4 separate regions of the Homo sapiens genome follow, and regions 1, 2 and 3 are each linked to region 4. Evidence: promoter capture Hi-C in 16 types of primary human blood cells and fetal thymus (Javierre and others, 2016). All regions are on one chromosome and are shown on one strand. The core of a region is centred on a gene start or on the middle of the fragment in contact, and the rest is flanking DNA. Distances in the headings are between cores, read along the strand shown. Region 1 has its middle 25 kb from the start of TFAP2A-AS2. Region 2 overlaps LOC101928146 (a long non-coding RNA gene). Region 3 overlaps LINC02522 (long intergenic non-protein coding RNA 2522). Region 4 holds the start of GCM2 (glial cells missing transcription factor 2).

The links. Contacts are between HindIII fragments. The CHiCAGO score rates a contact against its expected background, and 5 or more counts as called.
Region 1: a contact is called between a fragment that was not itself captured here and the fragment with the promoter of GCM2 in region 4, in 2 of 17 cell types (total B cells and naive B cells). The highest score is 6.7, in total B cells.
Region 2: a fragment that was not itself captured here is called in contact with the fragment with the promoter of GCM2 in region 4 in 2 of 17 cell types (naive B cells and total B cells); the score reaches 5.9 in naive B cells.
Region 3: a fragment that was not itself captured here is called in contact with the fragment with the promoter of GCM2 in region 4 in 1 of 17 cell types (erythroblasts); the score reaches 5.8 in erythroblasts.

What each region holds. Positions count from the first base shown.
Region 1 is chr6:10,376,526-10,383,194 of GRCh38, reverse strand. No RefSeq gene overlaps it. Among named protein-coding and RNA genes, the nearest start is that of TFAP2A-AS2, 25 kb to the left of the region's middle. The HindIII fragment of the contact is 4,608 bases long and covers 2,396-6,669 here.
Region 2 is chr6:10,508,702-10,515,424 of GRCh38, reverse strand. LOC101928146 (a long non-coding RNA gene) reads left to right here. Exons shown (of 3, transcript XR_001743961.2): 2 at 4,785-5,082; 3 at 6,122-6,723. It also overlaps the pseudogene LOC100422564. Among named protein-coding and RNA genes, the nearest start is that of GCNT2, 9.3 kb to the left of the region's middle. The HindIII fragment of the contact is 514 bases long and covers 4,196-4,709 here.
Region 3 is chr6:10,467,497-10,473,940 of GRCh38, reverse strand. LINC02522 (long intergenic non-protein coding RNA 2522) reads left to right here. Exons shown (of 4, transcript NR_183333.1): 2 at 1,906-3,068; 3 at 3,211-3,712. Among named protein-coding and RNA genes, the nearest start is that of LINC02522, 11 kb to the left of the region's middle. The HindIII fragment of the contact is 2,650 bases long and covers 1,180-3,829 here.
Region 4 is chr6:10,880,277-10,886,116 of GRCh38, reverse strand. It overlaps GCM2 (glial cells missing transcription factor 2), which reads left to right and starts at 4,076. Exons shown (of 5, transcript NM_004752.4): 1 at 4,076-4,413. The coding sequence starts at 4,324. RefSeq lists a silencer at 3,887-4,181. The HindIII fragment of the contact is 9,517 bases long and covers 1-5,840 here.

The DNA.
Region 1 (6,669 bases), core at 3,450-5,949, 500 kb after region 4:
AGGAAACATTTGAAAATAAACAATAATCTGTTCTCTCATTCTCTCTTCATCTTTGTCTTTTTCTCTGAGCTCTTCCTTGTCCCTCTAATGCCGTTTCTCCTCTATTTCTGTCTATTCTCAACTTTACAGCCCATCTCTCCAGTGTATCTTTTTTTTCTCCCTCCCTTTCTCCGCCCCTCTCTCTGCCTTTATAAATATGCTAAAGAGGAAAACAACCTCGGCAATTCATGCTCGTAGCCACACGGAGAGTGGATCTGTTATGCGGGGATCAGGCGTGACCGCCTGTTATCCGCCAGGGCACCCCCGGCGCCCCCTTTCTTGCTGGGCTGCGGGGAAGACACGCGTGGGCCCCTATAGTGTCCTACGCATGGGGAGAAGCCAGTTTTCCCCACGCATCAAATCCTAACTTCAAACTTGAATCCATCTTGCTGCTCAAGAGTCAAGCTCGGTGGATTCATAATAGCAACGACAAAGAGTAATTACATATTAGAAAACAAAACAATAATTACACTACCAAGTTGACACACCAGTCAGCGAAGCACAGTCGCTTGGGCTGGAAACACCAAAGCCCGCGGCGCCCGCGGCTGACTCAGCAAATCGGAAAAGCCCCCAGCCCACGCCCACGCCGGTCCAAGCCGGACAGCTGATGCGCCCCTGCCCCTGCCGCAGTCACCTGCTAACAGGCCTTCGAAGTCTCCCTTAATAAGATGTGATTTGGGAGCTGTCTGGCAGAAAAGCATCTCACAAGTACCATAGAACCTGTTTCTTGGAGAGATGTTTTGTTTTTTAATCAAAATGGACACCCAGATTCTTGAGTTTGAACTCTTGTTTTACATATTCACATTTAGAATAGAAAAAGCTGGTCTTTCTGCATGTTCATTTCTCCCAGCACCTGTCACTCGGTTCCTGGTTACTTTATGGAGCCCTCAGGCAGGAGTCCTCGGGTTTCCTCTTTCTCCCCCTAAGAGTCAAGGCGGCAGGGGCGTTTTTTAACTTCCTAGGTGGGGATGGGGTTAGAGGGGAAGGAGGTTAGAGGCTGGTGATTGGCCTGGGTGATTGGGCTTGGGACCCAGCGAGAAGAGCGTGTCCCTAACCTAGGCCCCTCGCAATCGCTGCCACATCCCCGGTTCCTTTGGACTGGCGGTCGGGGAGGCTCCCTTTTCGGGCATTGTTCCCCCTGACCCCCTTCAGGGGCTCCAGCGCGTCCCCGGGGTCTTCCCAGGGCCCGGGCCTGGACGGTGGATTAGAGATGGGGACGGCTGGCGAGTGTCTGGGGGCGGCTGGCGAGTCTCTGGGGGCGACACCCGTCCGGACTGCGCAGCTCGCTGCTCACTGAGGCGGACTCCGCTTGCCGTCCCGGTGTGAAAGCAAACACATTCTGTTTGGGCCAGGAGCCCGCGGCTGGAAGATGCAACTGAGCTGGAAACACCAGGCCTCCGTCTGGGAAAGATTGAGCCGGAACCTCTATTCGGGCCTCTCCTCTCGCTTCCCCCAGGCCTGTCTTCCCAGGGTTGAAGCCCGCCCCAAAGGCAAGGTGGGTTGAGCGGAGGGCGCCAGTGCGCTTGTGCCAAGGGGGCGTCGAAGGACAAGAGCCTATCTTGGGACTGTGCCTCGAAAGGCGCTAGCAGGCCGCGCACCCTGGGCCTGGGAAAAAGCCCAGAGCGTCCTCTCAGGCCCCAGATAGGAGGAGTGCTCAGGCTCGGGGACCTGCCGCAGGCTGCCCTTAGCCGGCGATGCCATCTGCAGGCTGCGAAGTAATCGGATTTGGCCAAGAAGGGGAAAGGCCGCAGCGACCCACGGTGGGCACCTGGGCTTTGGGGAGGGTGGAAAGCCGGCGGGGACAGCCAGGAAAGCGCGCGGGGCCCAGCGCCCTCTAGGGCACACAAGCCCCTCGCTGGGTGGACGGCTCTCCTTTCATCCCCCAGGGCTTAGGGAAGGACAAAGGACCTATAAAAAAAATCTAACAACAAAAAAAATATCAGCTTGACCCCCAAAAGAACACTGTTTAATGAGGTGGAAAATTCTTCCACACAAATTGCTTTTTCTACTACTTTATGAGAGTTCATAAATGTTAATGAAATCCAGTTACCAAAAAGTAACATACATCATTGCAGCTGAAGGGAGGCAGAGGAAGGAAGGTGGTGGTTAACGTACAATCATAATTAAAATAACAGCAGCGGCAGCAACAATGCTGCCCATGGCTAATGTGGTTGGAGGCTCAGTCCAGAGCCGCACCATTGTATCCGATCTGGGTTGGCCACCGGTGTTTCCCTGGACAAGAACAACAGTGGCAGCAATGGCACAACGACAAATGTAGAAGTGCAGGAGCCGGTGGGTCAGAGTGGAAATAAAATCACAAAACGCTCCTGTTTCTTTTCTTTTGAAATAGAAAGCTTGTTACAGACTCAAACTTCTTCAAAATCTATGCAGAAAGAAGAGCCCAAGGCAATGCCTGGGAGAAGCGGAGGGGAGGGGCAAGCTCATTGTCCTCCACACCTGCCCTATATGTTTGCTTTTTCCTTCCTCTCTGCATATCAGAGGTACACTCCTATAGCAGGTGATCTTATTCTGACAGTTTTTTTTTTTTTTTTTTGAGACGAGAGTTTCACTCTGTTGCCCAGGCTGGAGTGCAGGGGCACGATCTTGGCTCACCGCAACCTCCACCTCCAAGGTTCAAGAGATTTTCCCGCCTCAGCCTCCTGAGTAGCTGGGATTACAGGTTACTGCCACCACGCCCAGCTAATTTTTGTATTTTTACTAGAGATGGGGTTTCACCGTGTTGGCCAGGCTGTTCTCAAACTCCTGACCTCAGGTGATCCACCCGCCTTGGCCTCCCAAAGTACTGGGATTACATGCATGAGCCACCACACCGGGCCTTCTTCTGACATTTCTATGCCCAGCACCCAGCCCAGAGTTGGCACATAGTAGGTGCTTAATAGGTGTGTATTGAATAAGTGAATGATTGAATGGAACAACAGCAGAAAATTACTCAATGAACAATCTCCTTGATAATATCTGAAGATGAATTAAGATGCTCAAGCACACGCCTGTAAACCCAGCACTTTGGGAGGCTGAGGCGGGCAGATCACGAGGTTAGGAGATCGAGACCATCCTGGCTAACATGGTGAAACCCCGTCTCTACTAAAAATACAAAAAATTAGCCGGGTGTGGTGGTGGGCGCCTGTAGTCCCAGCTACTCGGGAGGCTGAGGCAGGAGAATGGCGTGAACCCGGGAGGCGGAGCTTGCAGTGAGCCAAGATTGCGCCCCTGCACTCCAGCCTGGGAGACAGAGCGAGATTCCGTCTCTAAAAAAAAAAAAAAAAAAAAAAAAAAAAAAAAAAAAGATGCTCAAGCACTCAATATTTTCAATATTCACCAAACATTTTCTGATAACATACTATGTGTCAGGAACTGTTCCAGGCCCTGAGGATACAGTAAGCAAACAAAACAGACAGAAACCCATCTTCTTATGAAGCTAATATTTTGAATTGTCCTGTTTTGGCTGATGTATTATTTTACATGGCTGGGCAAATGGCCTCTTACCTAACTTTGGGAAAATGACTGTTACCCTCCAGATTCCTCTTTATGAAATGGAGTTGAGGAAAGGAGATGCGAAGTCTATTGATGAAAGTCATATAAAGAATATGGTTTTAAGGAAGATGTTTTATATTTCCTTAATGGGATCATTTCTCTATGTCTTTATTTGTTACGAGTCAAAAATATATATATTTTTTGTAAATAGCTAGGACAATTTGAATATTTTTCTTTTGCCCTTGAGAGCTGCTGGAATTGAATCATTTTAGCTTTGCACATATTGCTTAATATTTTATGTAATCTAAATACAAGTGCTTTCTTTCTTTTTTTTTTTTTTTTTTTTTTTTTTTTTTTGAGACGGAGTCTCCCTCTGTCACCCAGGCTGGAGTGCAACGGCACGATCTCGGCTCACTGCAACCTCCGCCTCCCGGGTTCAAGAGATTCTCCTGCTTCAGCCTCCTGAGTAGCTGGGATTACAGGCGCGCACCACCACTCCCGGCTACTTTTTGTATTTTTAATAGAGATGGGGTTTCACCATGTTGGTAAGGCAGGTCTCGAACTCCTGACATCGTGATCCACCTGCCTTGGCCTCCCAAAGTGCTGGGATTACAGGCGTGAGCCACCGCGCCCGGTCACAAGTACTTTCTTAACAAAATAGGGAATAAAAAAATAAATACAAGTACTAATACTAATAACTATTTTTTTTTTTTAGCTATTATCTTTTGCCAGTTACTGCACTCAGTGCCACATAGGCTTTACCTCATTTAAACTCTTGGCAACCCTTTGAGATACGTGCTGTTTTTCCTATCTTTATTTTTTAAATGAGGGAAACAAGGTTGAGAGCAGGTAAGTGTTGGGGCTTAGGCCACCAGTGAGTAATCGGCAGTGCCTCATCTGGAACTCAGGTATCTGTTACACTAGAATGAAGAGCCTACGACCCTAGGAGTTCCAGTCATTTGCCTTCAGCTTTCTTGTCTATAAAATGCAGTTAATACCCATCTAGTCTATATTGTTCACGGTGTGGTGAAATTAAAATTCCATTTATTTATGAAAACACTTTGCAAATGTTAGAATGCTGCATGAATATACTATTGTTTTTGTTGTTATTATTATTATATGCTGTTTCTTATCTGTAATTGTTAGTAGCTACAATAACCTACTCTGCAGCAGCAACCACTGAAATTGATTGAACTTTGGCTGAGTGATTGTTTTGGAACATGAGCGGTGATGGATCTGTTGAGAATGAGACAGAGAGACTCCTGGTTTAATGGAGGAAATACTGTTGGAGAAGATTTGGCTGTTCCCACTGAGTCTCCCTGCATCCTGTGGGATCTCAGGGTCTGGCAGGAGTGGGTTTCTGGCATCCCCCACCACCATCTTCTTTAGGGATATCCTTCCTCCTAATTGCAGGGTGCCCTGTTCTGCCTTGCCTGGACCATTAGCCCTGCTCTCGGCCATCACTCTAGGCAGCCAGTCCAGGCACAACAGTGAGAAAGGTTAAGTGTTCATTTTTGTAAGTAAACTTACAATGCTGCTTTGAGACAACATAATTACTACTTCCTACACCCTATTGTATCTGGTAGAGAAATGGTCACAAAGACATCAAACAAACATCAAATCTCTGTCACTGCCTCCTGCACCTGTTATCCTCCAAAAAGTGGGCAAGACTTTGTGGATGTTTGGAAACCTAGTGCCATTTCACAGTAGTCACTTGTCTGAGGCAACACCTGCAGATGCCTTTACTGTTTGAACCTCAGATCAGTTAGTCAAGGAATGAAGAGGCAGAGCTATTAAGAACATACTGGCTTCTGGATTGTGCCAATCAATCTTTATATTTCATTTATTCATCTGTTCATTCATTTATTCAATGCTTTTGAGCTCTTTTCTAGGAAGTAAAAAAAAATCCCATTGAGAATTTTATTGCCTGGTGGGAGGCAGACGAATACAAATATAATTACAGAACAGTGAAGTAAGTTCCAATAAAAGATTTATACACAGAGTAGGGCTGGACTGGTTACTCATTTTGATATACGGAATTAGGCCACAGCATGCATTCTCAACTGGGGTGATATTGTCTTCAAGAGGGCAAAAATTGGTTCCTGGGAGATGAAACAAATCTCAGATGTTACAATGGTCTGTGGTCCTTCAAACTAACCCTACCTGACAAAATGTAACTCCTTCGTATTCAATTTCTCTTGTTAGACTTTATATTGAGGGAGTGATAATAGTGAGAAATTGAGAACCACTGGGCTAGGTAGGAGAACTTGACTCACTAACTCAGGCTGAGTGTGCTTAAGACTACTAGTTAAGGCTGGGCGCAGTGGCTCACGCCTGTAATTCTAGCACTTTGGGAGGCTGAGGCGGGGGGATCACCTGAGGTGAGGGGTTCGAGACCAGTCTGGTTAACATGGTGAAACCTGGTCTCTACTAAAAATACAAAAATTAGACAGAAGTGGTCATGTATGCCTGTAATCCCAGCTACTCAGGAGGCTGAGGCAGAATTGCTGGAACCAGGGAGGCGGAGGCTGCAGTGAGCTGAGATCTCGCCACTGCACACCAGCCTGGGTGACAGCAAGACTCTGTCTCAAAAACAAACAAACAAACAAACAAATAAAAACCACTACTAGTTTAGCTATCATGGCTGACTTGCTCAGTTGGTTAAAAAGCAGCAACTGGCCTGGCGCGGTGGCTCACGCCTGTAATCCCAGCACTTTGGGAGGCCGAGGTGGGTGGATCACGAAGTCAGGAGATCGAGACCATCCTGGTTAACACAGTGAAACCCTGTCTCTACTAAAAATACAGAAAATTAGCCGGGCGTGGTGGCGGGCACCTGTAGTCCCAGCTCCTTGGGAGGCCGAGGCAGGAGAATGGCGTGAACCCAGGAGGCGGAGCTTGCAGTGAGCCGAGATCACGCCACTGCACTCCAGCCTGGGCGACACAGCGAGACTCTGTGTCAAAAAAAAAAAAAAAAAAAAAGCAGCAACTACTTTGGCTGCTTTGTCCAAAAATCTGTTATTATTTTACCGATTAAAAAAATCCCCCTGATTCTTGGCTTGATGTAGGGAAACCCCACACCCGGTGCCTCATAAAACAGGGAAGTGAATTCTCAAATATTCCTTTAGTTCCCTCAGAAAT
Region 2 (6,723 bases), core at 3,203-5,702, 370 kb after region 4:
TATTCATTCATTCATTGAGATGGAGTCTTGCTGTGCCACCCAGGCTGGAGTGCAGTGCTGCAATCTTGGCTCCCTGCAGCCTCCACCTCCCAAGTTCAAGTGATTCTCCTGTCTTGGCCTCCTGAGTAGCTGGGATTACAGGCCAGTGCCACCACACCTGGCTGATTTTTGTATTTTTAGTAGAGACAGGGTTTCACCATGTTGGCCAGGCTGGTCTCAAACTCCTGACCTCAAGTGATCTGCCTACCTCGGCCTCCCAAAGTGGTGGGATTACAGGCATGAGCCACCGCACCTGGCCAGAAGTATATTTTATATTAATTTATTGAAACATATGGAAAGCAGTCAACAGGATATTCATTAAGTCTAGAAACACAGATGGGTATACATAACTTCATCAAGACCATTTTCAATGTGTAACACACACGTGTGCGTGCACTCACAGAGTTTAGACTTTATGTAGATTGGAAATCAAGTTCCACATACCTGGAATCCTACTGAGTGTCACCCAGAAATGCTCATCAGGAGAGTCAGTATCTTTTGACCACTCAAGTAAATCAATGGCCCTTAGGTTTTGAAGAACAAAATTAGCAAATTCCCTTGTAAGGGCCACATAGGCAGAGCCAAAGTAAATTGTCAGATGGTGGGGAGGAGGCATTTTTCTCATGCAAGTCCACAGCATGAAGGAAAACAAGCTATCTCTGCTCCAAGTGCATGTATTTGGTCCTTCTGATAATATGAGGAGGAGGCGGCACCCCGGGGGTGATATTTTTCCTTTTCCGTAACCTCAGATACTGAACGTATTTCCCTGTTGGTTTTCAGGGGAATTCTTGCCCACAGGTGTTGATGACGTACTTCCAGGGAACCTCAGAGGCCACAAGGTCTTTCAGGCAGTGCAGGTCAGCCTGGAGCCTGGAGATCCCTGTGTAGAACAGAGACTCCCTCTCAGAAGCCACAGAGACGTTTGTGAAGCAGCTCAGTAGCTTTCTTACAGCGTCTTTGAAAGTGACTGGGGCCTTCTGATCCACATGAACACAGTAGATGTTTTGGGGAGTGTAGATGGCCCTCAAGAGTCTTTCAAATGTATCAGTCTTTGCGGATGACCATGACATAGGCCAAAGGGAACTCGGCTTCGTCTTTGGACACAGGTTCCATTATGCAGTGATTTCGGATCAAGTATCGCTGGCAGGTTATTATTTCTCAATGGCGTCACTGGTATATTTTCATCCAAGAACATTTTCTTGCCTGTCACAATCATGCCACACACTTCTGCAAGGACTGAAGAGTTTGAGATCTTCCCCCATGGAAGATATTTTTGCGGGACCTAATAGTTACTATACAGGAATAAAAGAGTTATGGACGTGGCCATAAGCCCTAGGACCAACCCAAATGCCTCTACCTTTATTTTTCCTATGGTCTTTTCTGGATTCATCATTCACCTGATTTTATGCCATTGCTGAAGTCAGTCTGCAGGTCCCTGCCCAGACTTGAGAAATGTGCTCTAGCAACTTATTTGCAGCAAGAAGTGCAATATGACCATTTACTTAAAAGAAGGAGGATCAACCACAAGTCGGTAGCTCTTCTATTTAAAAAATCAGGTGACTCTTTGAACATGAGCCAGTGGGGCCAGCTGACCACTTCACAAAAGCCAGGCACAGTTGGGCACCTCTGTCTAGGTCAACCACAAATTAAGACCCTAGCAAATCGGCCACAGCTGCCAGCTCAGGGTGTTTTTCCCATGTGGAGTACAGGTGGAATGTGTGTTCATTTGGCACCTCTTTTTCCCATGCAGAGCCACCATCACCATCACTGATGTCACCTTTGAATGCAAGGGACACTATATTTCTTCAACTTCAGGCAATCACAGTTGTCCTGAAGTAGGTCACCATTTACGTGGACAGCACCCAGAACTCCTCGATAGTGGGGTCTCTTTACTTAAAAATAAAGATCAAGAATTTATAGTATTTCAGGATTGAAAGGAATCTTGCAGATTATTCTCACCAATTGATTCAGTTACAAATAAAGAACACTGACAATGACCCATAACGACTATTCTATCACATTTTGTCTCCATTTTCTCACTGATGGCCTGAGAGGTAAGCATTGACATTATATCCACTTTGCACATGAAGAAATTACGCCCAAAGATATGCTAGCTTGCCTGATATCCAGTAATGAGTTAATGGCAGCCTGGGGTTTTCAAACCTAACTCTTCTTCTTCTTATCTTAGAGTTGGGGTCTGGGTCTGTGCCCAGGCTGGAGTGCAATCACTGCCACATCAACTTCCTGGACTCAACCCATCCTCCTGCCTCAGTCTCCTGAGTAGCTGGGACTACAGGTGCCAGCCACATTGCTTGCCTAATTAAACATAAGATTTTGTTTCTTTTTTTTTGAGACAGAGTTTCACTCTTGTTGCTCAGGCTGAAGTGCAATGGTGCGATCTCAGCTCACTGCAACCTCTGCTTCCCAGGTTCAAGCAATTCTCCTGCCTCAGCCTCCCAAGTAGCTGGGATTACATGCACCCACCACCACGCCCAGATAATTTTTGTATTTTTAGTAGAGAAGTGGTTTCACCATGTTGGCCAGGCTGGTCTTGAACTCCTGACCTCAGGTGATCCACCCGCCTAGGCCTCCCAAAGTGCTGGGATTACAGGAGTGAGCCACCTCACCCAGCCTTAAAAAAATTTTTTTTGGGGCCGGGCGAGGTGGCTCATGCCTGTAATCCCAGCACTTTGGGAGGCCGAGGCAGGCAGATCACCTGAGATTGGGAGTTCGATACCAGCCTGACCAACATGGAGAAACACCATCTCTACCAAAAATACAAAATTAGCTGGGCATGATGGCACATGCCTGTAATCCCAGCTACTAGGGAGGCTGAGGCAGGAGAATCGCTTGAACTCGGGAGGTGGAAGTTGCAGTGAGCCAAGATCACACCATTGCACTCCAGCCTGGGCAACAAGAGTGAAACTCCGTCTCAAAAAAAATAAAATAAAATAAAAAAATAAAAATCGTTTTTTTGTAGAGACGGGGTATCACTATGTTGCCCAGGCTGGTCTTGAACCCCTGGGCTCAAGGGACCCTCCTTCCTTGACCCCCCAAAGGGATTATAGGCATGAGCCACTGTGCCTAGCCTCAAGCTTATCTCTTCTCACTGCATAGGCCATCTACCTGGAATATTCTCTCCCCCTGCCTTGTCTTGAGTTCCTACTCATCTTTCAGGTCCCTATGTGACACTGCTTCCCTGGTGACCCTTCCTTGCTCTTCCAAGTCTGGGTTAGAAGCCCTTCACCTGCCCTAATAAAACCTTGTACTCCTACAATTGCTTGTTTGTTTGCTCTACCACTAGTCCATGGAGGACTATTTATTTTTAAAACAAAAAGTTAATATTTTATTTTTAAATGTATGATTTACAGGTGGTAATTATACGTATTTATGGGATGCAGCATGATGTTCCAATACATGTATACATTGTGTAATGATCAAATCATGGTAATTAGCATATCCATCACCTTAGACATTTATTGTTTGTTATCAGAACATTCAAAAACTGCTCTTCCAGGTATTTTGAAATATACAATGCATTATTATTAACTGTAATCCTCCTCCTATGCAGTAGAACTCCAGAGCTTATTCTTCCTCTCTATCTATAGCTTGGCACCTGTTGATCCATCTCTCATCACCCCCCTGCTCCTTTCCCTTCCCATTCTCTGGTAACCACTGTTCTATTCTCTACTTCTATGTGGATTCCACATGAGTGAGATCATGCAATATTTGTCTCTCTGTGCCTGGCTTATTTCACTCAACATAATGTCCCATGGAGAACTATTTCGGTCTGCTGGTCACTGCACTTTCAACACCTTGCTTATGGTAGGCACTCACCGAATTAAGTTTAGCCACCCTTCTTTCCTCTATACCAGAGATCAGCAAAACCACAGCTGGGGGGGTCCAGTCTGGCTCGCTGCATGTTTTTAGACAATCTCTCAGCTAGAATGGTTTTATATTTTAAAATGGTTGGGAGAAAATCCAAAGAAGAAAAATGTTTTGTGACACATGAAAATTATATGAAATTCAAATTTCGGTGTCCATAAATACAATTTTATTGGAACACAGCCGTCCTCATTTGTTTACACAGGGCCTATGGCTGCTTTCACGTTACAATGGCAGGGCTAAGTTGTTGCCACATCTGACCACCGAAGCTTAAAATGTTTTCCATCTGGCCTTTACCAGAGAAGGTTTGCTGACCCTCTCCTCTGTATCTACGGATGTCCCTTGTATACCACTGTGCTTGCACTACATCAAGACAGCGATTGTGGACTTGATACCATTTTACAACTTTTTGCTTTATTTTCAAGATTTCCTCGTGAATGCCAGAATGACACGATATTTGGTAGCAAAGCATGAGCTTCAAAGAGAGGTTTGCGTGGGTCTAGATCCTGGCTTTGCTAGTTCCTAGTTGTGTGACGTTGGGCAAATCACTTTTCCTATCTGTCTTAATTTCTTTGTCAGTAAAATAAAGATAATACCAGTAGGGCTGTTTTGTGAGTTGATGTGTTAATAAGTAGAATGCACTCTGAGCAGTATTCACGCATAGTGAACACTCTGAAATGCTAGCTATTCTCACTGCACACGATCGCTTCTAGGGGCTACCTGTACCGCCAGTGAACTGGAAACTCACCCCACTGCACTTTGCCTGACACCGAGTGGCCCAAGCTTTGGCGAGAGGCAGTGCTGCCACACAGTGGCTCTATATGGGGTGGCTTGGCACACTCTTCCTTTTTTTTTTTTAGGTGATTGCAAATCTATGGATGAGACCAAGGGAGAATTTTCACGCCATCATAGCATTTTATTCCTCACCTGACTGGGAGCAGCTCGAAGGGAAGGACATGTCTCCAAAGACATGAGGAGTATTCAACGTGGCATTCGAGGCGCAAGGAAAAACCTGCCTATCCCAAGATCTCAGCCCCATCAGCCAGCCAAGGGATCCACAATGACCCTTATGAAGTTTCATAAGGAAGCTAATTGCTTAAATGAGATTTGAGTCAAGAAGGATGACCTAGCAATAACCTCTATATATCTCATTATGCCGTAAGTAACCAATAGAGGTTCTAGAAAATGCCATCCAATAGAGGTTCTGGAAAAATGGGACAAGAGACAGGTTAGATTAGATGGAAGAAAAGGCCTTCCATCTAAGCAAGGCCTGGCATGTGGAATGCTAGTGGGGGCCCTCTGGACTGTGCTGGCAGGGCAGGTAAAGCAGCCAGGAGAGAATGTGAAAGTGGAAAGATGCCCCGGGGTGACGTGCCATCACTTAGATTTTATTTATTTATTTAGAGACGAAGTCTCCCTCTGTCACCCAGGCTGGAGTGCAGTGGCGCGATCTTGGCTCACTGCAACTTCTGCCTCCCAGGCTCAAGCGATTTTCTTGCCTCAGCCTCCCAAGTAGCTGGGACTACAGGTGTGTGCCACCATGCATAGCTAATTTTTGCACTTTTAGTAGAGACAGGGTTTCACCATGTTGGCCAGGCTGGTCTCGAACTTCTGACCTCAGGAGATCTGCCCAACTCAGCCTCCCAAAATGATGGGATTACAGGCGTGAGCCACTGCACCCAACCAGGTTATTTTCAGAATTAGAGATGAATCTTAAAAATCAAAATTTCCCCAGTGTCCCAGACACATTCAAAGCAAAATTACATAGAGGTTCGGCATCCCTAGTCTGAAAATCTGAGATCTGAAATGCTCCAAAATCCAAAACTTTTTGAGAGTTAATGTGGCACCATCAGTGGAAAATTCCACACCTGACTTCATGTGATGGGTCTCAGTCGAACAGCAGCCAAAACTTTGCTTCTTGGACACAATTATTTAAAATAGTGTATAAAATTATCTCCAGGCTATGTGCATAAGGTGTATATGAAATATAAATGAATTTCATGTTCAGACTTGGGTCCCATCCCCAAGACATCTCATTATGTATATGCAAATTTTCCAACCTAGAAAAAACTTGAAATTCAGAACACTTCTGGTCCCAAGCGTTTTGGATATGGGATACTCAACCTGTAGTTTCATTTTAATTATTTTGATGTAACTTAACTGAGCATCAAATTTTAAATTTTTTTTTTTTAATTAGAAAACTTAAATGGCTACATAAGAGGACAGTCCAGTGACAGACATGGAAAGAGGCTTAGAGGTCATCTCATTCATCACACCATTTTACAGAGGAAAGCAAAATGCCATCCAGAGAAGGAAAGTCACAAAGCCATCTAACCCCAGACCTGGGAGTAGCAGCTGATCACAGCGGGTCGGACACAAGAAGCTGCTTCCAAAAATCTTTCCTTCCATTTGTCCTACAGAGAAGACATCAGAAAACAAAATTTTATAAGCATGTCTCTAGCTCTAACTCACTATTCAACTAAAGGACAAATTAAATAGGGAATGAGATAACCTTAACTTCATGAGATTTGTTCTTATATGCAGTTTTCTACCCTGAGAAACCAATCTATGCTAAAGATAATATTTGTGCTTTTCAATGAGGCTGGTAAAATATTTGCACTTTGAAGCTCAGAGCGATAACATTTATTCATTCGGGTGAAACTTATCAGGATTAGGTAAATATAATCGAAGCAAAACAAAAATGATTTGGGAAACTTTGTGACCAAAACCAACAGGCGTATTCAGTACTCCTTTGAAGGTCACCTAATTCTAATAACATTTATATTTATAAATGTCCTC
Region 3 (6,444 bases), core at 1,255-3,754, 410 kb after region 4:
CCTCCCAGTAGCTGGGACTACAAGCTTGAGCCACTGCACCTCCTTTGCACATTTTTAAATCAGATAGTTTTGTTTTTGTTGTTGTTGAGTTGTAGGAGCTATTTATGTATTCTGGATATTAACACCTTATCAGATGTATGATTTGCAAACATTTTTTCCCCATTCCATTGGTTGCCTTTTCACTCTGTTGATTGTGTCCTTTGATGCCGAGAAGTTTCTAAGTTTAATGTAGTATAATTTATCTATTTTATGGCTGGGCCTGGTGGCTCACACCCGTAATCCCAGCACTTTGGGAGGTTGAGGTGGGTGGATTGCTTGAGCCTAAGAGTTTGAGACCAGCCTGGGCAACATGGCAAAACCTTGCCTCTACTAAAACACAGAAAAATTAGCCAGGTGTGGTGGCATGCATCTGTGATCCCAGTTATTCGACAAGCTGAGATGAGAGGATTGCTTAAGCCTGGCAGGTTAAGGCTGCAGTGAGCCATAATTATGGCAATGCACTCCAGTCTGGGTGACAGAGCAAGACCCTGTCTCAAACAAACAAAACATTTATCTATTTTATTTTTGTGGCTTGTGCTCTTGGTAACACAACCAAGAAATCATTGTCAAATCCAATGTCATTGTAAAGCTTTCCCTCTATGTTTTCTTCTAGAAATTTTATAGTTTAGGCCTTACATTTAGGTCTTTGATCTATTTTATGTTAATTGTTACAAACGGTGTAAGGTAAGGGTCCCACTTTCTTCTTCTGCATGTGGACATTCATGTTTTCCCAATATTATTTGTTGAAAAGACCCCTTTCTCCATTGAATGGTCTCAACACCCATGTAAAAAGTCATTCAATCATATAGGCAAGGGTTTACTTCTGGGCTTTCTCTTCTATTCCATTGGTCTATGTGTCTGTTTTTATGCCAGTACCACACTGTTTTGATTATTGTTACCATATATGACTGTCTAAAAAATTTTATGTATGTATAAAAATTTTTATGTATACATAAAATTTATACATACATAAAATTTTTTTTGAGACAGTCTTGCTCTGTTGCCCAGGCTGGAGTGCAGTGGCACAATCTAGGCTCAGCTCACTGCAACCTGCGCTTCCTGGCAAGCGATTCTCGTCTTGTAATATATTTTGAAATCAGGAAGTGTGATGCCTCCAGCTTTGTCCTTCTTTCTCAAGCTTATTTTGGCTATCCAGGGTCCCTTGAGAGTCCACATAAATTTTAGGATAAATTTTTAATTGGATTTTTTAATAGGGATTACATTGTTTGCTTAATGTAATCATAATGCATATGATTTTCTTATGCCCCCAACAAATATGAAATCATAGTCATAATCATTTGCTAAATGATTACATTAAGATTGTTTTGGGTAGTGTTGACATTTTAACAAAACTAAGTCTTCCAATCATGAGCACAGATGTCATTCCATTTATTTGTGTCTTCTTTAAGTGCTTTCAGCAATGTTTTAAAGTTTTAGCGTACAGTCTTTTGTCTTCTTGGTTAAGTTTATTTCCAAGTATTTTATTCTTTTTGATACTATTGTAAATGAAATTGCTTTTGTAATTCCCTGCAGCCTCTTTCATGCTCTGAGCAGAACTGCATTGCATACAATCAATCACCTACACTCACAGGCAAGAATGTACTACTATTGTAATAATGTAAATTTTTCTAAAATCACAAAATGGAAAATGCATCTTATTTGCTTTTAACGTTTTAGCAGATGATGTGGTCAAGTAAATAAATAAAAGGAGAGAAAGAGAAGTTCTGTGTGTGTGTGTGTGTGTGTGTGTGTGTGTGTGTGTGTGTGTCTGTCTGTCTAAGATCCTTTTGTTGTTTGCTTTGGCCTAGTTTCTTATGCTTTGAGGAAAAGCTCATTCTCATTCATGTGACTTGCTTTGGCTAATAGGACACCAGAGCATGATGCAAGTGTGGCTTAATCGGTGCTTGCACATTGGGCTTGTTCTTTCCAAACCTGTTGCCCCGATTCTGCAAGGCTATCCTGCTGTAGAAGGAGGCCCTGGAGGACAAGACACCATGTGGGGAAAACAGCCATGGGGAGCAGAACCGAGGTATCCCAGCTTAGCTCCCAACTGACAGCAGCCACATGAGTGAGCAGAAAAACAACTTCCAAGGGTGATTTAGCTACTGCTGCTGTGGAATGTCAAAACTTTCAGCAAGGGAGCCCGATGCAGATCTGTTGATATGACACCATTCCACAAGAAGACCAACTGATGGCTTTGTGGCAAGTTGACTACACTGGGCTGTTTCTATTCTGGGAAGACAGAGATTTGTTCTAAGAGGAATAGGCATGTGTTGCAGGCATAGGTTGACCTTTCCTGCCATGGAGCCTCCTCTGGTACCACTATTTGAAGGTTGAAGGAATGTTGATTCACCAGGATTGAGTCAGACCAGCCAAGCCTATGACCATGATGTCAACTGACTGTATCACCTGTCACATCATCCAGAAGCTACAGACTTATAAGGCATTGGAATAACTTGTAGATGGCCCCGTTAAAGTACCAGCTTAGAGGCAACACTCCATGAGAATGAGACATCATCTCCAGGATGGCACATACACATTGAATCACACAGCATTGATAAGGAGATGGCTCCCCAGTAGGAAGAATATATTGGTCATGAACCAAGGGATGAAGCAGAAGTGTCTTGCTTCCTGTCCCTGCAGCCTCTCTTTCTGCAGTGCTAGAAATCCTGGTCAAAAGGGGGCATAATTTTATCAGGGGACACAGCAAAAGTCTCCACTACATTGCAGCTATGCCTGCTGCCTGGGGATTTTGGGCTTCTTATAATTGGGACCAGCAATAAAAGAGAAGAGTCACAGTCTTGGCAGGGCTAATTGACCCTGATCAGCAGGAGAAGAAAGGCTGTGGTTCCACTATGAGGGTAGGGAAGACGTGTGGCACCACTGATCCACTTTTGCAACCCATGGTACTCCCGTGGCCAGTTGTGATGACAGACAAGTGCAGGAACACTTTTGGGAAGGGCATGGTGGCCAGAGTTCAGACCCCATGGGAATGAGGACCAGGGTCACACCACTGGATAAGCCAGGAGGTAAGCTGCAGAGGTGAGGGGGAATCTAGACTGGGGATTAGGGGAGGAAAATGAAAAGTATCAGTCATTGCCCTGAGACCAGCTGCAGCAGCAGGTGTTGTAGCTTGTGCTTCTAAGCCATCTACTTTTACATTTCCTCCAGGAAGAGAGGCCCACTGGAAGGCTGGAGGAGCTGCTCCCCAGATGTAGATGAAGTAGATTTGAGCAGCACAGTGGTGGACCTAGTAGAGGCGGACATCAAGATCCTCTTCAAGGAAAGATTATCAATATAGTTTTCCCTGACCCAGGTGCCATGTGTTTTCTGTCATATTCACGTATGCTAATACATAATTGTGCAAGTGGGGTAATATCTGGGACACTTCATGGTTCATATCAAAACACAGAGTGAAGAGAACATCCTCTGGGCCATCTCAGAGTGTGAGTTTGGGGCGGGGGTGGCTCCTGGTTAACATTTCTGTCCACTGCAGCATTCCTTTTCCCTTTTGCTTTTAGATTCTTCCCTTGACATCACACCAGGAAAGTCTGACAACTTAACTTTATTGGATATAGGCAACCGTTGAATCCAAGTTTTGCCCACTGAATCCATCAAATTGTTACAGCCAATTCTAGATGCCTGAGTGGACACATGAAATCCAGATTCCCCAGTAAGCGCATCCCCATTAATAAACTGACCAAATGCAATGTTAATCTGTTCTATAACCTTTAGAATCCATCCCAACATATATTTTTTAGGTTCCTGCCAAGATATGTTAGCAAAAGCTTGCAATTTTTTGAAAAATGAATTATCTCTTCCTGGGACATGTGTTGTACTTTTCTCTCTGAAATAGGCTGAGCTCTGACTCCATTAAAAGTCTGAAAGCAATGAAGAGTGAAGGAGCGGATATTGGGGAGAATAGGCATCCTCTTGCAAGATAACTGCCTCAAAGTCATTATAAGGTTTTCAAGCAAGAGAAAGCTAATTTCCTTACACATATGAAGAAGCGTTGCTTCTCCTGGCAAGAAATACACAGTGAATCAGGGATTCAAAATTCTTAGCTTTATCTAAGTTTACCCAGATGTGTCTATCCTTCCCAATCAGTGCTCTTGGCAGGAGACTTGGCAAGTCTGCGAAGTCAACTTATGTTATAATTCTGCAACCCACACAAGTTCTTATTTTCAATGAGGGTAACCTTGCAGCCACACAAAATAGCAAAATTTTTTAAGGAGTACCATAGACACACTCTGGTTCTCTGTGTTCAGTGTTTTAAGCCTATCTTTTTGTTCCCCTGTAAGCTCTTCAATGTAGTCCAAAATACACCATCTGTGGTAGGCAGAATTCTAAGAAGGTTCCAAAGATTCTCACCCATGGTGTAGAGAACTTGTATAATTTTCTCCCCTAAAGTGTAGGTGGAGCCCGTGAATAGGATGGGATATTAATACCATGATTGTGTTATATTTTGAGACAAAAAAAATTTTGTAGATGTAATTAAAGGTACTAATCAGTTGACTATGAGTTTATCAAAAGGGAGATCATCCAGGTGGGCCTGACCTAATCATATCAGCCCTCTAAATCCTGGTCTATGGGTCAGAGAAAGAGGAAGGCAGAGATTTAAAGCATGAGAGAAATTCAAAGCAAACTAGATTCTCCATTGCTGTCTTTGAAGACAGGCAGCCATGTGGCAAGGAATGTGGGTAGCCGATAGTGGCCGATGACAGCTCCCAGCCCACACTTCAAGTTTAGCCTCGTAGGGCCCTGAGCAGGGGACACAACTATACTGCATTTACAACCTACAGAACTGTGAACTGATAAATGGGTGTTTTGTTTGTTTTGAGATGGAGTCTCAGGCGCCCAGGCTGGAGTGCAGTGGTACAATTTTGGCTCAGTGCAACCTCCACCTCCTGGGTTCAAACGATTCTCCTGTCTCAGCCTCCCAAGTAGCTGGGATTACAGGTGCCCGCCACCATGCCCTGCTAATTTTTGTATTTTTAGTAGAGACAGGGTTTCACCATGTTTGCCAGACTGGTCTTGAACTTCTGATCTCAAGCGCTCCACCTGTCTCGGCCTCCCAAAGTGCTGGGATTGCAGGCGTGAGCCACCGTGCCCAATGTGGGTGTTGTTTTAAGCTGCCAAGTGTGTGGTACTTCATTATCTAGCAAAGAAAAACTAATACAACAGTCCACAGCCCTGGTAGTAATCATTACTAACGAAGTGGTCAAGTGCAGCAGCTAACTGGTCTCCTAATAGTTGCTTTATTAGGCATTTCATCACAATCACTAGAGGTGATACTGCAATTAATCATAATGCTATGGCATGACATGCATTACTGTCCCATTTGCAAGGAGCTCAGCACTCTTTTTAAGGCAAGTGGCATTTCCAAGCTAATCCCAGAATCTCTTTTTTTTTTTATAAAGATGGGGTTTTGCTATATTGCCCAGGATGGAGGCTCTTTGCAGGCACGATTATAGTGCACTTCAGCCTTGTATTAGTCTATTCTCACATTGCTAGAAGGAAATACCTGAGATTAGGTAATATATATATGTATATATATATATATAGAGAGAGAGAGAGAGAGAGAGAGAGGGGTTTAATTGGCTCACGGTTCCACAGGCTGTACAGGAAGCATGATTCTGGCATCTGCTTGGCCTCTGGGGAGGCCTCAGGAAACTTACAATCATGGCGGAGGGCAGCAGGGTTGCCAACACTTCACATGGCTGGGAGCAAGAGGAAGAGGTGGTGGGGAGGTGCCGTGCATTTTTAAACAACCAGATATCACTCACCTTCCAATACCAAGGGGCAGTGGTGTTAAACCATGAGAAACTGTCCCCATGAAGAAATCATCTACCACCAGGCCCCACCTCGAACACTGGAGATTACAATTTAACATGAGATTTGGGTGAGGACACAGATCCAAACCATATCAAGACTCAAACTCCTGGCTTCAAGCAATACTTCTGTGTCAGCTTCCTGAGTAGTTAGGACTACAGGCACATGTCACTCTGCGTTACAGTATTTTTTTTTTTTTTTGGAGACAGAGTCTCACTCTGTGGCCCAGGCTGGAGTGCAGTGGCACGATCATGGCTCACTGCAACCTCCACCTCCAGGGTTCAAGCGATTCTCATGCCTCAGCCTCTTGAGTAGCTGGGTCTGCAGGTGTGCACCACCACATCCGGCTAATTTTTGTGTTTTTAGTAGAGACAGTGTTTCTCCATGTTGGCCAAGCTGGTCTCGAACTCTGATCTCAAGCCATCCACCTGCCTCAGCCTCCCAAAGTGCTGGGATTATAGACTCTCATTTTTGATAGTCTTGTTTCCTAGAACCTCTCCCGGTAACAAGCACTGTGTCAGGGTTGAATCAGGAAAGAAGAAACCACATAATGTTATTTCAATGGAGGGAATT
Region 4 (5,840 bases), core at 2,827-5,326:
CACGGTGGCAAAATTAAATTGGACTAGAGTTTTCCACAAAAAACAAAAAAAAGACCCCTCCAATCCAAACATCCTTTGTGTAAAAATCAACTTGTATTATAACTAGACCTGTGAGTATTTCAAGTCATAATATGTACGGAAGATATTTGTCTACACCAAAGCAAAACATAACAAAACCAGAACCCCTGTTAGCCCAGGACTTGCACACATTTCTAGTCCGTTCAAAACAATGTTTATGTCAAAGCCTGTCATATCAATTTCCTGGAAAGTATAATGTAAACATTCTTACATTAATTTACCTATTTTAATCTAAACCAAGGAAATTCAAACGCAAGTTTTTTTCCTTTTCAATGAATGGACTTTTGTAATATTAAACTAGTAATCAAGACAGGAACAGCTGTGAGTATAAGCTATTGTGAGTCAATACAAATATAATACCAGGGCAAGAAAGAAACAATGAATAATAAGAAGCAATAAACAAAATACTACAGTTTAAATGAATTTTAAGAGAATATTTAAAAATTAGAGTTTTCATAATATTAGATAGAAAACTTAATCATCTATTATTTTCAGGCTTTGGGGGAAAACATGTCCTTCCAAAGTCTATGGTGCAATGCATTCAAATCTTTAAGAGAAATTAAAAATAACAGAATAGGCAAAATACCTTTTATCTGGTTTTTTTTTTACTTTGATTAGCTTCTTTTACTAACATGTTTTGTCTTAATATAATTTATGGCAACTTGAAATGCATACTCTAATTCTTCTCAAACTAAATATAGTAGAGGCTCTATGACATTTCTTTGGATACCAGAATCCCTTTAGAAATTAATTGATTTGCCTTTTACATAAAAAAGTTTTATTTATTTATGTTTTTGACGGGTCAGGTCTCTCTAGGAACATTCCAAAAGCACAGAGACAAGAACTATTCTAGCACTGCAATAAGACCAAAAATTAATTTCTATGCATTTTCAGAGGTAACTTTAAATCACCATTTTAAAGTTATTTTTAGAACATTTGAAAGGATAAGTTATCTTAGACTACAACATTTAATGAAATACTATAATTAAAATGGATAATCAATAAATTTTCATTCAATTTTGGAAGACAAAACAACACGAAAAGCAACTGAATCAACAGGAGTTTCGGGGACCTTTGGCAGACAGTTAATAAGATGAAAAATCTGTGAATGAAACTCGTGGGTGAAGAGTAGACAGATCTCTTCGTTCCCAGCTAGACCTCAGTGGCGACCATTTGAGAGTGATTTTAATCAGAAACCTTGACTGACAGGACCTTTTAGGAGGGGAGAACTTCGGGAGAAAGGAGGCTGGGAATGAACAAATCACTTTCTTCTGCTAGGACCCTTCGGCTTTGACTGGGAGGAGGACCCCAGCTAGAAGATAAAGGAGGAAAAAATCGCGAGGAACTGCTCGAAGTTGGCCTTTCTTCCCAACAGAGTTCGCTGGTCCGCTGCCACTGGCAGGCTTCTCTGACCGACTGGGATACTTTTTCTTTCTTCTTTCCTTTTCTTTTTTTTTTCTTTTTCTTTTCTTTCTCCTTCCTTGCTTCCTTCCTCTCTCTCTCTCTCTTTCTTTCTGTCTTTCTTTCCTTCCTTTTTTTTTTTTTTTTTTTTGAGACAGGGTCTCGTTCTGTCGCCCAGGCTCGGCGCTATCTCAGGTTACTGCAACCACTGCCTCCTGGATTCAAGCGATCCTCCCGCCTCAGCCTCCCAAGTAGCTGGGACTACAGGCACACGCCACCATGCCCGGCTTTTTTTTTTTTTTTTTTTTTCGAAGAGACAGGGTTTCGCCATGTTGCCCAGTCTGGTCTTGCACTCCTGGGCTCAAGCGATCCTCCCGTCTCGGCCTCCCAAAGTGCTGGGATTACAGGCATGAGCCACTGCGCCCAATCGCGGGATGGACTTTTCTAAGCAAGCCTCACTGTGCCTTTGGCGCGGGAAGTAAAAGGACAGGGAGCGTGGACCACCCTTAGCTTCCTGATGTGGTTTCGCTCTTCCTTTATCCGCCTTTTGCCAACCGAAGGCACTAATCCTGCAAGAGGCGTTGGCATGGGCGCCCTCCTGGCCGAGTCCCGGGCAGCACCCGTCCGTGCGCTCAGCACGGGCTTTGCGGTGCCAAGGCCTAGGGTGCGTCGCTTCCCGGGTCTGGAGGGTCATGGATTCGGTTCATCCTCCTCTATCAAGGGATCTGCCGTGAGGAGTTGGCTCCTCTTCTCTGGCTGGGGCTGGGAATGGAAGCGTGCAGCTGCAAAACAAGGACGCGGGCAATAAATTCCAGAAGCCCTTTCCCCTGGCCGCCAAGAATCCGGCCTTGGGGTAGTCAAAGAGTGACTTTAGTCACTTCAATCGGTTTTGTTTTGTTTTGTTTGTTTTTTGTTTTTTGTTTTTTTTATATATATATATACTGAGGGTCTCCATGTGCCGGAGTAGCCCTGGGCGAGTCGGCTGCTCAGATGATGAAGGTTTCGTCCCAGCCCCGGAGAACCCACATTGTCCTGCGCACCTCCGCACCACCGCGATTCTCTAGTCCTCCAAAGCCTCCCAAGACTGTAATGGAGTAAATTCAATTTCGTCGTGATATTTCCAAGACTATATCAGTGAAGTTTTTTTTTAAGAGTTGTGGGCCGGGCGCGGTGGCTCACGCCTTTAATCCCAGCACTTTGAGAGGCCGAGACAGGAGGATCACGAAGTCAAAAAATCGAGACCATCCTGGCCAACTTGGTAAAACCCTGTCTCTACTAACAATACAAAATTAGCTGGTCGCGATGGCGCGCCTGTAGTTCCAGCTACTCGGGAGGCTGAGGCAGGAGAATCGTTTGAACCTGGGAGGCGGAGGTTGCAGTGAGCCGAGATTGCGCCACTGCACTCCAGCCGGGAAGACAGAGTGAGACTCCGTCTCAAAAAAAAAAAAAAAAAAAAAGATTTGTGTTCGGGTGGGTGGCAACTGAGAGCTCGCCGAACCACAACCTCTTATTTAACAGATAAACAGATAAGGAAGCTGAGACCCAGAGGGAGCCAAAGCAGTGGAGAAAGCGAGTTCTTTGGGACTTTTCCCCTCTCCCCTTTCCCTCCTTCCCCAGGCTCCCACCTACCCCAGGCTCCCACCTACCCCGGGCTCATTTCCGCCCCCCACCTCCTCCAGGTTCACTTTGTAGGACTCCGTTCCTGCAGGGCCAGGTCCCTCCGAAGTCCCCGGGAGCGTGAAGGCGCCTGGGCTCGCGAGCATACGCGGAGGCTTGGCGCACCCTGGCACGTCCCAAACAGCAGAGCCAAGACTGCGAGACACTCACAATAGTTAGGGGAAGAGCCGGCAGTGGAGGCCCAAAATGGGCTGACCCCTAACTAGGAGGCGTGGGCGCGGTTATTCAGGCTAGGGCGCACGCGGACGGCAGAGGGGCCCACGCACGGTTCCCATGCTCTCCTGGAATTGAGTGTTGGCTCTCAGGGGACTTTGCTGGAAAGCCTCCATCTAAGCCCCTTTCCGAAATCAGGGAAGCTGGACGCGTTTAGAAAAAAGAAAAAAAATAGGCCGGTCGCGGTTGCTCACGCCTGTAATCCCAGCACTTTGGGAGGCCCAGGCGGGCAGATCGTCAGGAGTTCAAGACCAGCTTGGTCAGGGTTTCGCATGGCTAAAACCTGTCTCTACTAAAAATACAAAAATTAGCCAGGGTGGTGGCACGGACCTGTATTCCCAGCTACTCGGGAGGTTGAGGCAGGAGAATCGCTTGAACCTGGGAGGCAGAGGTTGCAGTTAGCTGAGATGGCGCCACTGCACTCTAGCCTGGGCAACAGAGTGAGACAAAAAAGAAGAAAAGAAAAGAAGAAAATAATAAGGTTTTAAACTTAAAGGATACATTCCTACTTACCCTCTCCACCCCCACCCTCTGGCTGCAGTTTCCATTTGCTTCCAGGGCTGAGTTTAACCTCCACCTCCGTTCCTGGGACTGTGGTGGAGGGGGCGACCGGCCCCTGGAGCGTGGGCGCTAGCGAGGTAGGCGAGACAGGGCGGAGCCCCCCGGAGGTATATCTTTATAAAGGAGGGGGCAGCTGCCAGAGGTCGATGCTGCCGTTCGGGTGGAGAACGTTCAGCACCGCGGCCAAGGACAAGGCCCCGCCCGGGTCCATAACCATTGTCCCCAGCTTCCAGATATCTAAACAGCCTCTCTCTCTTTCTCTCTCTCTGCACCTCCCCTTCACACACCCCACTTTCTTCTTTAAAGAGAAGAAAAAAAACCCACCTGGCGCACCTGTCCTTTTTTCTTCTATTTTTCAGAACCCTGGGCGGAAAGCGCGAGCGAGTTGGGCAGATGCCGGCGGCCGCGGTGCAGGAAGCGGTCGGCGTGTGCTCCTACGGGATGCAGCTCAGCTGGGACATCAACGATCCGCAGATGCCTCAGGTAAGTGAACCGGGTGTGTGCGGGCACGCGGGGCGCTGTCCATCCGAAGGAGGGAGAATGGCATTCGAGTTCTTGAAGAGTCTGCGGACGGACCATACACACACACACACACACACACACACACACACACACACACACACACACACACATACCCGCAAAATTTCTGGGTTTCTGAGGCCCTCTCAAGTGTAGAAAGAAAACTGGACTCTACAAAAGGCTGAGTTGGGTTTAGAAATGTGTCTTCTTGGCCGGGCGCTGTGGTTCATACCTGTAATCCCAGCACTTTGGGAGGCTGAGGCGGGTGGATCATCTGAGGTCGGGAGTTCAAGACCAGCCTGACCAACATGGAGAAACCCCGTCTCTACCAAAAATACAAAATCAGCCCAGCGTGGTGGCGCATGCCTAAAGTCGCAGCTACTCGGGAGGCTGAGGCAGGAGAATCGCTTGAACCCGAGAGGCAGAGGTTGCGGTGAGCCAAGATCACGCCATTGAACTCCAGCCTGGGCAACAAGAGCAAAACTCCATCTCAAAAAAAGAAGAAGAAGAAGAAGAAGAAATGTGTCTTCTCCCAGCAATTTCCTTGTGCTTGCCTGAAATCACAAGCAAAGCAGCAGGAAATGTTGGTCAGGCTCCACATTCCCAGTCTTGGGGAGAGCGGGACGCCTGTCCTTTCACTTCCCTTTAACCAAGGTAGAAATTAGGTGCCTCTCTCCTTATTCATTTACTTTAAATCCATGAGGAAGCTAAGGAGAAAATCTAAGCAGATGTAAATACCACTGCTTCTCATGCAGCAAAACTGAGGTACAACTGTAAAGTGAATCTAATGACCTAAATTTAAAACAAGTAGCCCGACTTGAGCAATTTGCTCAGACCTCCCTAACTGCTCAGAGGAAGGAGGCCCCATAGTCATGCCAACAAGGCCACCTGTACCCAAAACTTACTTCTTCTCTAATGACAAGCAAATCATCATTCTTTTAGGGTGAATTTGTTGTATTTTGCTTTATTTCAATAAAGCAAAAATGGTTTGGAGCCAAGTCCAAAGAATGACTGGGGTGGATGAAGTGGTGAATGAAGTGGGTGGTTTGAAGCCAGTTCCAGAGAATGACCAATTATCATTAGTCACACTGGTTAGGGCCAAAATTGAGTGATGTTGAAGTCCTGGCTGTAGGGGGTGGGGGGTGTAGAATGAGAGTTGCTTCCCTGCCATTTGCAGATGTGGGCTTCCAGCAATGTTGTGGCACAGGGATAAAAGAGATGGGTCATTTTGTCCGCAACTAAAATGTGTCTGATAGGTGTTCAGATGAATAACAATTCATTGCAACATTGTGTCGCCTCTCATAGAGGTCAGCACTTTTTTGGATCCATATATTTGTAGTAGGTTAGGTGTGTTTTACTCCTTTGTTTTTGTTTGTTTGTTGGGGTTTTTT